Linked DNA regions of Homo sapiens: region 2 is linked to region 1. Evidence: promoter capture Hi-C in human tissues and cell types (Jung and others, 2019). All regions are on one chromosome and are shown on one strand. The core of a region is centred on a gene start or on the middle of the fragment in contact, and the rest is flanking DNA. Distances in the headings are between cores, read along the strand shown. Region 1 holds the start of CDIP1 (cell death inducing p53 target 1). Region 2 overlaps ZNF500 (zinc finger protein 500).

The links. Contacts are between HindIII fragments. The study calls those that stand out against the background at their distance.
Region 2: a contact is called between a fragment that was not itself captured here and the fragment with the promoter of CDIP1 in region 1, in 1 of the 25 tissues and cell types used here (dorsolateral prefrontal cortex).

Annotation. Positions count from the first base shown.
Region 1 is chr16:4,537,359-4,540,058 of GRCh38, forward strand. CDIP1 (cell death inducing p53 target 1) reads right to left here and starts at 1,415. Exons shown (of 6, transcript NM_013399.3): 1 at 1,344-1,415. It also overlaps a transcript of C16orf96 not described here. RefSeq lists silencers at 812-1,031, 1,042-1,331. The HindIII fragment of the contact is 9,452 bases long and covers 1-2,700 here.
Region 2 is chr16:4,759,019-4,761,718 of GRCh38, forward strand. It overlaps ZNF500 (zinc finger protein 500), which reads right to left. Exons shown (of 6, transcript NM_021646.4): 5 at 1,474-1,570. Among named protein-coding and RNA genes, the nearest start is that of ZNF500, 6.8 kb to the right of the region's middle. The HindIII fragment of the contact is 5,964 bases long and covers 1-2,700 here.

The sequences.
Region 1 (2,700 bases), core at 165-2,664:
CTGGCAAGTGACTGGGCATAACCTTTCCGATTAAGGGCAGAGGGCAAGGCAGAGCTGGCACGCCTCCCTCCACCCAGTTCTACCTAGATCGGCCCCAAGGGAAGCAGCAAAGAACCCAGGAGAGCAGTAACTTGCCCGGGCACCGCCCCGCCCAGCATCAGGCCCCAGAATACAGAAGAAACTGGCAGAAACACTATGGAACGTCCCTGCCCCCGGGCCCGCCAACCCCCTCACTGGGACAGGTTCTCAGCCCCAGCTGCGCCCGGGAATGATCTGGGGAGCCTACTAAATGCAGATTCCTGGGCAGCGCGACGGAACTACAGCATCCCAACACCTGGGGTGGGCCCCAGGAATCTGCCCGTTTCCCAAGAGCCCCAGGTGGTTCTGACGCAGAGGATCTTGAGCCCACCTTTGGAGGAACTCACAGCCACTCGCCCCACCTCATCTAACACCTGTTGAGAAGCCCCCCAAGGAACTCGCTAAGCCAAGGTCCTCGAAGGCGCGACTCCTAGCCCCAAGCTAGGCCAGGCCGTCGCCATCTCCGCCGGGGATGCGCGGCCGAGCGCCACATCCCGACTCCACACGTCGGCGAGCCGGGCGCGGGTGCAGGACACTGCTGGGCTCCGGGACGGCCAAGGTCACCCGCGGGGCTCGGCAGGGGCTGGCTCGGCCACGGGGCTCCTCCTCGACCCCCTTTCCTTGAGAAAACAACTCCCACCCCTCCCCTCCCCGTCTCGCCCTGCAAGACGGAGATGGCAATTTCCACAACCTTCCCTGACGGAAAAACGTGCGGGCGAGCAGGCTGCCATTCCGGGCGCACAACCCCGCGGCACACAGCGGGGCGCCCGCCCGGGCCCCGCCACCGCAGCGGCTTCGACATCCCCAGGGCCGCGCTAGGTCTCGGCAGCGCCCTGAGGGGAGGACGGGCCCCGCCATGCCGCGCCCCAACCGCCGGCCCCGCTTTACCTCCAGAAGCCCGGTGCCCGAGGCCGGCCGAAAGCGGAGAGGGGCCCGGGTCCGGACAGGCGCCGGCAGAACAAGACCCTCAGCCCCGCGCGGCTTTGCGCGCACAACGAAACCCCCCAACCCACCGCCCACCCCACCGCCCAGAGGCTTCTAGGACTTGTAGTCCGCCCGGTCACCCCCCCCACCACAACCCGCTCTGAGAGGCTGGGGACTACGGTGCCCGGCATGCACCGCCCAGGCGCCGCGGGCGGGGGCGGGGAGGGGGCGCCACGGTCCGAGGTCACGCCCCGACCTGAGGAGAGCTGGCGCCCAGACCCTTCCCCCGGGGAGGAGGGCTCCCGCGCGAAGCCGTCTCCGAATGCGTCCAGTCGACTCACCGTCCCCGCAGCCCTGGGGCAGCGGCCGCAACAGCAGGACCGAACGCCTCGGCAGCTGGCAGTCGCACTTCTGTCACAAGGAGGCGGGTAGACTTTGGACCAGGGCCGAGGCCCGGGACGTCACGGTGGGGGGTGGGGTCTCGGGAGGCACGTGATGCGCCGTGATGACGTCAGTGGGAGCGGAGGCGATTTGGCCTAGAGCTGGGGCTGAGCACGTGGGATGGTCGGGGCCTGTTTGCCCAATGTACACGAGGCTGGAGAATAGGGAAAGAACCGTCCCTGTGAGCGCCTCCTCTTCACTCATGCCAGCAACAGGGCAGGGCATCTTCCTCCAGGGCTGCATTTTTTCTTTTATGCGACTAATATTTATTGAGTTTGGGAGGTGCATTACATAAAACCTTGAACCACACGGTCACTGTCCCTGCGCTTGAAACTGCCTTTGCAAAAATTACAACAGAAAATTATGACAGTGAAAGAGAGCTGACCTAACCCACTCCATCTTGCTTCTAACCTCCAGGTTGTCCTTGTTCATTCCTAGGCATAGGCAGAACTAACTTTGGGAGCAACTTAGTTTATAGTTTAATATTGAAACAAAGATAGTTAACAGCCCTTTCCCAAAACAAACCCCCTTGTTGCCTGAGAACCAGGCTTCCTTTGTAAGAGTAACACGTTAGCTACAAGATTAGACATTATAGTTTAGGGCCCAGCTCAGTGGCTAACGCCTGTAATCCCAGCACTTTGGAAGGCTGACGCAGGTGGATCACTTGAGGTCAGGAGTTTGAGACCAGCCTGGCCAACATGGTGAAACCATGTCTCTATTTAAAAATACAAAAATTAGCCGGGTATGGTGGCACGCACCTGTAATCCCAACTACTAGGGAGGCTGAAGCCCAAAAATTGCTTGAACCCGAGAGATGGAGGTTGCAGTGAGCTGAGATTATGCCTCTGCACTCCAGCCTGAGCAAGAGACTGAGACTCCATCTCAAAAAAAGAAAGAAAGAAAGAAATTACGGTTTAGGAGTCATGCACCCAGAGGCCACAAGATTCTAAACCTCCCCAGTTGATCCTAGGTATAATATCACTATTGTAAAACCTAAGATTGGTACTCTTAGGTGTTTTTCTGACCCTGCAGTCTGATGCACCAGCCAAGGCCACCTAGAGCTGTAATCTGACTCAACCAGTTCTTGCATCCTTCAACACCCTGTGATTTCATCTCCCACCCCACCAATCAGCACTCCCTACTCCTTGGCAGCTTATCTACCAAATTACCCTTTAAAAACTCTAGGCTCTGAATTTCCAGGGAGACTGATTTGAGTAATGAAACTTTGGTCTCCCATTCAGCCAGCTCTGTGTGGATT
Region 2 (2,700 bases), core at 21-2,520, 220 kb after region 1:
GGCCAACATGGCAAAACCCAGCTCTACTAAAAATAGAAAAATTAGCCGGGTATGGTGGCACACACCTGTAATCCCAGCTACTTTGGGAGGCTGAGGCAGGAGAATCGCTTGAACCTGGAAGGCGGAGGTTGCAGTGAGCTGAGCTGAGATCGTGCCACTCCACTCCAGCCTGGGCAACAGAGCAAGACTTCATCTCAAAAAAAAAAAAAAACCCTGAAAATAACAACCATTGGTATGGATGTGGAGAAACTGGAACCCTTGTGCACTCTTGCTGGGTGCATGAGATGGTGCAGATGCTGTGGAAAACAGCATGGCGGCTCCTCAAAAAATTCAACACAGAATGACCACATATGCTCCAGCCATCCCACTGCTGGATACATCCACCCAGGAACGGAAAGCAGAGTTGATCAGAGATACACTTGTACACCCACGTTCACTGCAGCATTATTTACAATGGAATATTCTTCAGCCTTAAAAAGGAAAAAAATTCTGGAGGTTTCCCAAAGAAGGAAGTCTGCCTCAAGACCGTGGCACAGAAATCCTAAGCTTCCAGTCTGCTGGCCTGGCCTGCAGATTTCAGACTTGTCAACTTCTGTAAGCAACCAAGGGAGCTGTCTAAGTACCCATTCCTTAAAATAAATCTGTGTGTGTGTGTATCTTCTGTTGGTTCTGTTTCTCTGGAGAAGAACCCTAATACAAAGCGATATCTCACTGTCATTAGAAAAGGCTTCAGCATGGCCACGCACGGTGGCTCACACCTGTCATCCCAGCACTTTGGGAGGCCTAGGCCAGCGGATCACCTGAAGTCAGGACTTCGAGACCAGCCTGGCCAACATGGTGATGAAACCCATCTCTACTAATAAAACAAAAATTAGCCAGGCATGATGGCGAGTACCTGTAATCCCAGCTACTTGGGAGGCTGAGGTGGGAGCATCGCTTGAACCCAGGAGGTGGAGGTTGCAGTGAGCCAAGGTTGTGCCACTGCACTCCAGCCTGGGCAACAGAGCAAAAATCCATCTCAAAACAAACAAGCAAACAAAAAACCAGAAAAGGCTTCAGCAGCATCAGGAAAGGCAGGAAGAGACAAACGGACAGAGAAAGAGCTTAGGGGACGGTGCTGGGTAACAGGCAGGGCAGTGCTCAGTGTGATGGGGAGAGGCTGGAGAACCAGGTCCTGTGGGAGCAGCTCTGCCCTTGAGAGGAGGGCACAGGGAAGCTGAAGTGAAGTAGGACCAGCATGTAGGGGGCAGAGGCAGAAGAACAGGATGGCAAGGCAGTGCTGGGCATCTGCCTGAGTCACGGCCGAGTGGCTGTGCAGGCCCTGCAGGTGGGACTCTGCAGGGATACGGGTAGCCCTGTCCACGGAGGATCGCCCCAGGCCAACTGGACCAACAGAACCAAGCCCCGGAGCTGGTGCCTGACAGTTCCTATTTTTGGCAAGCCCCCTAGAGGACACAATCACTTGCAAGTTACCTTCATTCTCCAGCGGCGCGTCCCGCTGAGCTGGGTCCATGCATCTTGGCTCCTCCCCAGAAAGGTATACAGCCACGTCCTCCAAGTTCACGGGCACCTGCCAGAACGCACCCCACTCAGTCCTGGCCCCAAGCAAGCTGCCTCCTCCCCAACTAAGGCCACTGGCCCAGGGAGCTGCACCGCCACTGCCCCTCGAGGCTGGCGCCAAGCCTGGTGGTGCAGCTGGTCTTCTCCACTCTCGTTGCAGTGGTGAGTCCTGGTGTCTCCGCCCACTGCTCCCATGTGCCACTGCTGCAGAGCTGGGACACCACCGGAGAAGGGACAGATTCGCCACGAGGAGTGGTGGACCCACTGCACACTCAGCCACCGAGGCCCATGCTCCACAGGGAGACAAGAGCATCCCCTGGCTCCGTGGCTAGCCAGCCCCAGGACCCCATTGCGGCAGACGGGGGACTTCAGGATGCCTCTGGGCCAGTGGCTCCCAGATGTAGCACCAGATTGACCCGGAAGCATGATTAAAAAAACAAGCAAACTCTTTCCAGAACAGGCAAATTCACAGAGACAAGAAGGAGCTTTGTGGTTGCCAGAGGCTGAGGGAAAAACAGGTAGAGACTCTGGTAATGAGTCTAGGGGGTTTTCGGGGAGGGTCTAAAGGAAATGTTCGGCCGGGCGCGGTGGCTCACACCCGTAATCCCAGCACATTGGGAGGCCAAGGCAGGTGGATCATCTGAGGTCAGGAGCTCCAGACCAGCCTGGCCAACATGGTGAAACCCCATCTGTACTAAAAATACAAAAAAAATTAGCCAGGCATGGTGGTGGGTGCCTGTAATCCCAGCTACTCAGGAGGCTGACGCAGGAAAATCGCTTGAACCCGGGAGCCGGAGGTTGCAGTGAGCCGAGATCGCACCATTGCACTCCAGCCTGGGCAACAAGAGCAAAACTCTGTCTCAAAAAAACAAAAACAAAACAAAACAAATACACATACATACACACACACACACACACACACACACACACACACACACACACACACACATATAAAAATTATAAATAAATAAATAAAAATAAAACAGGCCAGGCATGGTGGCTTATGCCTGTAATCCCAGTGCTTTGGGAGACTTAGGCAAGAGGATCACTTGAGCCCAGGAGTTCAAGACCAGCCTAGGCAGCACAGCGAGACTGTGTCCCATTAAAAAAAAAACAAAAAAAAAACAACTAGCCGGGTGT